Regions from separate parts of the Homo sapiens genome. Here region 1 is linked to region 2. Evidence: promoter capture Hi-C in human tissues and cell types (Jung and others, 2019). All regions are on one chromosome and are shown on one strand. Each heading gives the region's core, a stretch centred on a gene start or on the middle of the fragment in contact. The rest is flanking DNA. Distances are from core to core; before and after follow the strand shown.

What was found. The method cuts DNA at HindIII sites, captures the fragments that hold promoters and counts their contacts. A contact is called where the count stands out against the background at its distance.
Region 1: a contact is called between a fragment that was not itself captured here and the fragment with the promoter of CTR9 in region 2, in 5 of the 25 tissues and cell types used here (H1 embryonic stem cells, IMR-90 fibroblasts, bladder and 2 more).

Annotation. Positions count from the first base shown.
Region 1 is chr11:10,638,021-10,642,943 of GRCh38, reverse strand. All of the region lies in intron 2 of IRAG1 (inositol 1,4,5-triphosphate receptor associated 1), which reads left to right. Among named protein-coding and RNA genes, the nearest start is that of IRAG1, 53 kb to the left of the region's middle. RefSeq lists enhancers at 761-940, 961-1,010. The HindIII fragment of the contact is 8,261 bases long and covers 1-4,923 here.
Region 2 is chr11:10,747,523-10,752,496 of GRCh38, reverse strand. It overlaps CTR9 (CTR9 component of Paf1/RNA polymerase II complex), which reads right to left and starts at 1,251. Exons shown (of 25, transcript NM_014633.5): 1 at 1,040-1,251. The coding sequence starts at 1,084. RefSeq lists enhancers at 1,364-1,413, 1,434-1,583, 1,382-1,882. The HindIII fragment of the contact is 21,303 bases long and covers 1-4,974 here.

The DNA.
Region 1 (4,923 bases), core at 838-3,337, 110 kb after region 2:
GAGGCCATGCCTCGGCCTCCCAAAGTGCTGGGATTACAGGCGTGAGCCACCGTGCCCGGCCCAGAGAGTCCTTTTATCCTGTTGTAAGAGCACTGGCTGCTTTTGCTGCTGGATCTCCTCTCTACCAAGGCAGTCCCTGTTTGCCCTCCAGGCTACAAGACAGGGATCTGGGGATACAGTCTCACAGCACGCACCCACCACCACCACTTTCACCGTCATTATTATTGCTTTCTCTCATTTAATACTTAAAACAAGCCTAGAGAATAGTGATTATTAGCTCTATGTAATGTTTTAGACCATGAAAGAGAAGTTTAGTAACTAGTAACTTGCCCAAGGTCACCCAGGTGGGATTCTGGTCTAGGCCTACCCGACTTCTTCACTAGCCCACATTGCCTTCCAGCAGGGTCCTCCTCTCCTGGGCTGTCTGCCAGCGCCCATCTACAGGATCTAAACCCCCCATGCCTGCCTGAGCTGGAGTGGGCTGGAGCTGGGGCTGGGGGTGTTCCTTACAGTTTCCTAGCCTGGGCCTAGCCATGTGACTCTGGGGAAAGGAAGCTAATATTCCCATCTATGACACTGGCCTATATTTATCCCTGTGCCCAGGCGGTTAGGAAAACTATTGTGCATTCCTGAGAATCTATGAGTGAAATAAACATTTAAATGTTTCTATAAGATTTATTTAAGGAGAACAAAATGTGGCCTGCTGGCTTATTAGAGGGTGAGCTTGCTGGGAGATGACCCAGCCCTCAGTGCTTGGCTGATTCCAGGGAAGGGAAATGGACCCCCAGGGAGGCTGGGCCCATGGAGGAGTGAGAAGGGCAGTGAGCCAAGGGCATCCTCTGCCCATGCTGTCCTTTTCTCCAGCTGTGTGTTCAGCCTTGTGCTGGTTTGAGGGCTTCCTGGAGGAAGAGGTACCTTCTGTGAAGGAGAGTGCAGCTTGGAAGAATAAGAGTGTCAGAGGCCAGCAGGGCACCAGGAACCAGGGGAGGTGAGACCAAAAACTGGGGATGCAGCTTTAAGAGTAGCGTGGTGTCGTGGGAAGGACACAGCCTGTGTTCAGTCACTTCCCCTATTTACAAGCGGCACAGCCCTGGACAAGTCAGTTTTTGCATTGATAAAGTGGAGATCAAAATAGAAAAGCAGAAGAGAAAAAAGAAAGATATCAATCTTCTACCCCATGCTCATGGCCTTCACTTTCATCTTCTCGTTTCCTCTTCACAATTCTATGAGTTTGGGAGGCATTATCACCCCCAATTTGTAGGTGGTGTCCTCAGGTTTACCCACTGAGTTTCTGGGAGGATTCGGTGAGAAAACACGAGGGGGGTCTGGGACAGGGCCCACCACACAGTGGGCCTGAGTAACTGCCAATTCCCTCTAGCCATGTTTGTTTCTGTGCTTCCATGTCTGTAACCCACAAAGGGCATTGATTGGTTTGAGAGGCAGAGGGTGAGAGGGAGTGGAGCCGGGTGAAGGTGGCCTTGGTGGTGGGTCCTTGATCACTTGGGCTTATGTGGTCAGATGCCCCAGGAGAGATGCTCCATTGCGCCGTGACCACAGTGGCTGGGCTCTCCCAATTTAACTCCAGATGGTTGAGGAGACCCAGAACTAAGAGCAACCATCTTTTCAAAACCAAATGCCAAAGTCATTAATTCAATCCCGAAGGGAATAATAAGGGAACATAACATCTAATGCTTAGTGAGCATTTGCTCAGTGCTAGGTGCACTTCCACAGGCTTGCCATCTAGGGCTGCCAGATTTGGAAAATGAAAATATGATTATATGCTGTACATGGTGGCTCACACCTGCAGTCCCAGCTACTCAGGTGAGAGGATCACCTGAGCCCAGAAATTTGAGACCAGCCTGGGCACATAGCAAGATTCAGTCGAGAGAGAGAGAGAGAATACAGTTATGTCCATGGAATATTTGAGACACACATACTAAAAATTATCTGTTGTACATTTGAAATTCAAATATAACTGGGGCATCCTGTGCTTTATCCAGAAATCCTATTTCTATATCAACTTGTTTAATTCTTATAACTACCCTGTGAGATAGTTCCATTATAGATTAGGTAACTGAGGCACAGAGAGGCAAGGTAACTTGCCCAAGGTTATCCAGCTAAAAAGTATACCATAAGGTAGTGTGGCTTCTGAGCCTGAGGCCCTGAAGCCCCTAAGCCAGTAGGTTGTCTGGCCAACGCTATTTGGTCTTACTGCTCTCCCAAGCTTTCTTGAAGGCCTGCCTTGTGTTTGACAGCTCAGAATGGGAGCAGGGATGCGTGTGTGCACTGCATGAAAATCTGGCAGAATTCACCCCAGAGGGCCCCTAGAATCTTCCCACACACTCTCTCCTGGATTACTGTCTCCCCAGTCCCTGATAGAGTGAAAAACAGCCCCCACAAGACCTGAATGTTCCCACCAAAACAGTTTTGCAGAAAAGGAGAAGTTGCCCAGAGCTTGCTCAACGATTCTGTCAGCTGATGAGGGAAAGAACACTATGATTTTATGAGTTGTGTATTTTGCACACATTAGAAGGCAAGTGTGAAGAACCTTCCAGGATGTTCCATCAAGGGATTAGAGGATTTCCTCCTAATCGCTTTATGCTTCCTGCTTTGTAAGCCACTTGGAATTGTGAGTGTCTGCGGTTACCTGCTTGGCACTTGCCACCCATGGCTTGTTTCTGCCTTTTTGTATGGGCACCTCTGCCATGGTCCTCCTCCCCAGTGAGATGCCTACAGTCAGGAGAGCTTTGCTTCAGGTAACCATTAGCCAGCAAGCAGAGAAAGCTCCTATCAGAAGGCAGCTCACTCCCGTGCCTTGTACCCATTTACCTGGTAGGTATCAACACCGAGGGCACTATTAGTAATAGCAGTGGAGGTTACTTCCCCTTCTCTCCCCATTCCTTCATGCTAATGAATGGGAAGCATTGCAGAGGCCCGCTCAGTTCACCTTTGTCTTCCCAGACCTTAGCATAGACCCTGGCCACAATAGGCATTCAATAAATGTTTGCCGGATGATTGGACAGAATAAGGTCCAATAATGTGGGAGTGTTCACAGACCACATCCCTTTCTTGGACGCCAAACAGAATCTGATCATTGCCAGCCCAGTGCCCCTCTCTTCTCCAAGAAGGTCTTTGCTCTGTAAGACTCTTCAGTAAATGTTTGTGAGTCAATCATACAAACAAATGAAGACAATCTGCACAAAAAATAACTGGATGGAGCTGGGGGAGTAAAGGCTGGAGCAGGAGAAAAAGAGAAAGAAGGTAGACAGAGGATCTGGGCAGGGAGGCAAGCAGGGGAAGAGTCATCAGAGAGGGGGCGTGAGAATCGTTAAGGAAAGAGAAAAGGGCAGAGGAGAGGTCAGGATGGGAGTGAAGATTTGTTCCCCTTTCATGTTCTTTGAGAGGTGAGAGTAAAGAATGAAGTTCCTTCTATGCTGGTTTTCTTTCTGTTGAACAGTTCCGTAAGGCGAGCCTTCTCAGAGTCTGCGCCACGTGGATCACGGCTTCATTAGGTTTCAGGGCAAATAGTTTAACCACAACTCCCAACCATAGACTGTTAGGAGCATGAGGTTCTCCTTGTCTGCTAGGGATATTTATGTTTGTCAAATCATCCATCATTCCCCCATTTATATAGTCTCATGTTTTTATATCTTATATTTTATTGTTGGTTACTTCAAGTTGCTTTGAGAAGTAGATAGTGTCAATAAGATTAAAAATAAACAAAGGCCAGGCATGGTGGCTCACGCCTGTAATCCCAGCACTTTGGGAGGCCAAGGCAGGCAGATTACTTTAGGCCAGGAGTTGGAGACCAGCCTGACCAATGTGGTGAAACCCCATCTCTACTAAAAATACAAAAATTAGCTGGGCATGGTGGTGCATGCCTGTAGTCCCAGCTACTCGGGAGGCTGAGGCATGAGAATTGCTTGACCGGGAGGCGGAGGTTGCAGTGAGCCAAGATCATATCACTGCACTCCAGCCTGGGAGACAGAGTGAGCCTCCATCTCAAAACAATACATAAAAATAAAATAAAATATGTATTTTACTTATTTAGCAGCCTGAATATATGAAACTGTTAGAAATGGATATATGCTATAACTCTCCTAATACCACCACAATTATTTTTTCAGAATACAACATGGAATTAGCTCATGTTTGGCCCATCCTGCCCCTTTAAATAGACACAGCTTATCCTCATCAATGCATGCCAGGAATTTGTAAAGCCCCACCACAAGGGGTGGTGGAAACCATATGATAGAATGCATGTAAAAAATGATATTTTAGACAAAATGCATTTCTTCTTGTTCATCAGAGGACTCATACAAGAAAGAAATTCTCTAAATATGACAGACATGAAAAAGGCAACTTTCAGAGCTCAAATTTTCACAGTCAGAATAAAATCCAGGGAAAGAAGCCCGCGCATGCTATAAGCACAGTCAGAGTTTCCATTGGCGTTCCCATGGTGATAGGCATGAGGCTGCCCAGATGATGTGGGTGGGAGAGATTTTAAGCACAAACCTCCTGTGCTCTGGAAAACCAGGCCAGGATGAAAACTACATGACACAGGGCAGTAACTCAGATGCATTTGGGGCCAGGGAGCACAAATCACTGAAGAAAGCCAATTTAGGATAGCTCAAACCTGGTTACTCTGCAGAAATATGGGCCTAAGATTGTTTGATCTTTCAGTTTAAGGAAAAGCAGGCTATCCAGACCTTTATGTGAATTCTTACAATTATGGAATGTTGATAACTAATTTAAAAACTTGTAAACACTACTAGCAAACAGGCACATGGGTCTCTAATTTGCACCTCTGAGCTCAGAATATGCATCAGAGGATGCTGATTGCTTAATTGACATCCAAGAGATCACACCTGCCAGAAACACTGACAAATCCCTGATTCCCAGTAATGCCTTTTGCTAATGCTA
Region 2 (4,974 bases), core at 2-2,501:
ATAATAAAGTTAAAGCACAGAGAAGCAAACAAACCCTGCTACTTGTCCCCAGATCACTGGAACTATAAAATACTAGAAATGGTCTGCTTACTAAAAAATAACAAAACAAAATCCTACTTAACATAGAATCCAAGTAAAGTGCAGATAAGCACCCTAGAGACTATTATGCCATAGGTCTGACTCCTTGAGATGCATGACCCTACAAGCCATGCAAAGTTGAATGCCACTGCACACATTAATCATGGAGGTGGCACCTGCGTGTAACAGACAGTCCTGACTGTAAGCACAAAAATAATAATAGGAAAATGTCCTGGAATTAGAGGTAATGACTATACAACTTTGCGAATACACTAAAAACCACTGAATTTTATACCTCAATATTATATCTCAAACAAAAAAAATAAAAATAAAAGATATACAAGAAGACTGAACATCAAAGCTGAGAGCTTTACTCAGACAAGCCACAGGCCACCCATGAATGAGACATAGGTAAGCGAGAGGAGGTTAAATTTTATCAGCACACAGGGGCGGCTAAATCTTGGGATATCTCGTTGAAGGAGAGTTGGTGTAGAGAACACAGCGCACCATGACAGACTCGAGTTTCTAAGGGAGAAGAGGCGACCTCCTATATATTCCCAGGGAAAGATCTCGAGTTTGAGCAGCAAGCATATAAACCCCGGAAACATCAGCGCCCACCTCTGTAATCTGCGAGGTGTTTTACAGTTTATCGGGTACTCTCACACCTCTGCTCCCGTGGGTTGGTTAGGAAAAGAGTAGCGCACTGTCAAATTCGAACAGGCTGGAGAGGAACTTTCAAGAACTCCTTCTCCGAGTGGCCCTGAGGCTGCAGAGACGCGGTGCCCCCAGCCTGAGAGGGCACAGGGGCTGAAGAAGATGATGATCAGACCTTGGCCAGGTATTTCGATCAGGGCTCTTAGGGAAGGAGGATGCTCTCGCTTCAGAAACGAAGTCGAGCGAAGTCGGTGGGGGCGATCGTACAAGTTCATGGCCCCCACCCGCCTCCATACACGACACTTACCTCGTCAGTGTCCCGGAGGGGAATCTCGATGGAGCCCCGCGACATGATGGGGTCAAAAGGCGAGCAAGTGTCTCGCCCCGCCGCTCCGCAGCCGGTAGTCTCCGCTTCAGGCTAATCCAGAGGTGAGTGACGGCTCCGGCTCTGGTCTTGACTGCCGCCCCGCGGCGCCGCTGGAGCTCTGGCTTCTCCTTCCCGTCAGCCGCTTAAACAACGAGCAGCGGACGGCGGACGGCCACTTCCGGCGACCCCGCCCCCTGTCCCGGAAGCACTCCCGGGGGAGCGTGCCCTACGCGAGCTCAGCTTGTGGCTCCGGTGTTTCCGTTTTGGGGTTGGCGGCTCCGAAGCTTTTGTTGGCGTGTCGGCTGTAGGGTGCCCCGAGAGCCTGCAGGACCTTCGGAACCATCTGGCGTCTGACTCTCCTCAGCGCTGGCGCGGCCCCGAATGAAAACTTGGAAGGCGTAGCCGCTTGGTCCCGCGGTGGGCGGGGCCCCTGCCTGACGTGGACCTCTCGGGATGGGCCTGGCCAATCCTGTTTTCTTCCCAAGATTGTTAGGGATAATTCAGTCATTCGTTTCGCAACCCATCTTTTGGCCCCCGTTAGGTGTAAGTCATACCTGTGATACCTTTGTGACTAGTTTAAATAAAAAAATTTACAATTAATTCGGTAATCATTGTGATAATTCATGTCTTATTTTTTTTAGTTCTTCGAAGCATGTAAGAAGATCTAGTATATTTGTGATTTAAGTAAAATTGCAGATGAGGCCAGGCGCGGTGGCTCACGCCTGTAATCCCAGCACTTTGGGAGGCCAAGGCGGGCGGATCATCTGAGGTCAGGAGTTCGAGACCAGCCTGACCAACATGGTGAAAACCCGTCTATACTAAAAATACAAAAATTAGCCCGGCGCGGTGGTGGGCGCCTGTAATCCCAGCTACCAGGGAGACTGAAACAGGAGACTCGCTTGAACCCGGGAGACGGAGGTTGCGCTGAGCCGAGATCAGCCACTGCGCTCCAGACTGGGGATCGATCGAGACTCCACCTCAAAAAAAAAAAAAAGAGGAAATTAATTTTAGTAATATATTTTATTTAACGTAATATATCCAAAATCTCATTTCAACATGTAGTCAATATAAAAATTCAGATAATTTTTACATTTTTTTATACTGAGTCTTGAAAATTCGATATGTATTTCACATGCATACACTGATCTCAGTTGCCTGATTTTAATTGGAAATATTGGATCTGTGTTTAGATTTTATAAAGTTTGCAGTTGAAAAAATAGGTTCACACACTTTAGTTTTTCCAAAATTTAAATTAAAAAAATTCCTAATTAAATTCCTTAATTGGATTAGTCATATTTCAAGTGTTCAATAGCCACATGTGGTTAGTGAATACTGCATTGGATGGCATCAGACAGTATTTCCCAGAAATACTGTTTAATATATTTTAAAGTTTATAAAGTAAGCATTAAACAAAAGTACACATAGTGGTGATTGTTATTCTCCATGCCCAAAAGCCTCCCTGATATTAAAAACTCTATTGATAGGTTTGGTTTTTCAGTTATTCGCATCCAAAGGCATCATACCTGATAATGCAGAGTGCTATGATTGAATAGTTGGGGCACTCAGTTTAGAGTGGGATTTGGAGGAAGTGACATTTAAGTTGCATCTGGGAAAATGAGTAAGGTTTGGCAGGTAAAGTATGTAGGGGAATGTGTACCAGACAGAGGGGACGGCATGTTGGGGAAGAGCTTTGAGAACCTGCAAGAAGGTCATGTGACTAGAATGTAGAAAATGAGGGGGAGAGTGGCATGAGTTGAAGCTGATATAAGAAGTACCCAGACATGCTGGGGTTTATGCTTATAAAGCAAAACTGACATCTTGTCCTGTTTCCAAAATGAGTGAGTGTACATATTACTTCCCACAGGAAAAACAAAATACTTTGTGTTCTGAAATAAACCGTGAAACAACAGTATCACACTCTGTAGTCTCCAAAGTGAACAAAACTTTCAGCATTTCCCATATATTACTGACTCTCTTACAGTTTAATTGCTGACTTTTGTACTGCTACAGTCTGAAGATATGTGGGAGCTTGGGGTCATATGGCAATCATATGAGAAAATTGCTCTTTTCTCACCATGAAGCAACTAACTGTAAACCTTGGTGTGTGTTCATTTGATGTATCAGTCCTTCTAAAGCGTAAATTCACCTGTATACTTTTGCAAGTGTTTTTGTAAGTAAACTTTTTTTCTAAATGCTTTTGTCCTTCAGAATTTCTTTTGACTTAGTATATATTAATGATTTGGGGTTTTATCTTACATGCAAAGTGATTGAAATGCTTTAAGTGATGTGTATGTGTCAATGAGAGGGAGAAAGAATAAAAGAGAATTGGTTTTGGCCAGGCACGGTGGCTCATGCCTGTAATCCCAGTACTTTGGGTGGCCGAGGTGGCCTATCACATGAGTTTAAGAATTCAAGACCAGTCTGGGCAACATGGTGAAATTTGTCTCTACTAAAGATACAAAAATTAGCTGGGTGTGGTGGTGCACGCCTGTTATCCCAGCTACTCAGGAGGCTGAGGCATGAGAATCACTTGAGCCCCAGAGGCGGAGGTGAAGGTTGCAGTGAGCCAAGATCATGCCGGTGCACTCCAGCCTGGGCGACAGAGTGAGACTCTGTCTGAAAAAAAAAAAAAAGAATTGGTTTTAAAAGATTGTTCTGGCTATGTTGTGAAAGATGGATTGGAAAGTGTCTCGAGAGGATGTGGGCAGACCACTTAGGAAACTGCTGTCTAGGTCACAGATGATAAATAGGAATAGGTTTAAGACAGTGGAGGTGGAGAGAAGTGGATGGATTTAAGATTATCATCTATCTATCTGTCTATCAATCATCTGTTGATACCTTAGTCACTAGGACTTGCCAATGTATTGGATATAGGCCGGGGTCACTGAAAAAGTAGTGTCAAGAAGGACGTCCAGTTTCTGGCATGAACAACTGGGTGAATGATGTGTCATTTCCTAAAATAGGAAAGATTAGTGGAGGAGCACATTTGGGCAAGGGTAGACCACTAGTTGGATTTCACATGTGTTGTTTGTAGTTTGTACTGTCTCTGCGACAGCCAGATGCAGATTTCAGATAGTCTAAATTACAGATCTGTAATTTAGAAGACAGTTTCTAACCTGGAGAAATAGGTCTGAGAGCTATTGGCATAAAGATGAATTTTAAAACTATGGGATTAAATTAGATTAGATAACCTAGGGAGAGAATGGAGAGTGACAAGAGAAGGGCCTAGTTCCCAGCCTGAGGAATTCTAGCACACAGAGGGTGTGAAGAGGAAGGTGGCCTGCAAGGAATCAGCAAGGACAATGAAGAGAGAATCACCTATCAGGGGCCTGGCAACAATTGAGACTTAAACTACACTCTTGGTACCAGGTTGCTACAAGCAGCCTTTTGTTTTTCCCTAAATGTAGCAGGCACTGATGAAATTAGATGTTTTAAAGCTGTAGAACCAGTTTTGGAGCAATTTCAAAGATTTTATTTCAACTGGCATGATTGCATAATGTCCATTCACAAAACACCATGCCCCATGTTGGGCCTGAGTGCACCAGATCAAGGCAAAGCAGTTAGTGTATTTGGCCAGTGTGGGTTTTGTTGAGTACATGTTCTAAATAGATTGTTAAGATTCTTACTTTTATGTTGTTGGTATTGCAGTTGTCTGTAATGTTGGTAAATATATACATTTAGCCAATCTGAAGAGTAAGTTATTTTATATGTTGATAAAATATGCTAATAATTAATTTATTATTTTTGAGGCAGGGTCTCACTCTGTCATGCAGGATGGAGTACGGTGGCACCATCACAGCTCATTGCAGCCTCAAACTCCTGGGCTCAAGCAATTTCCTGCTTCAGCCTCCCAAGCAGCTGGGATTATAAGCAGA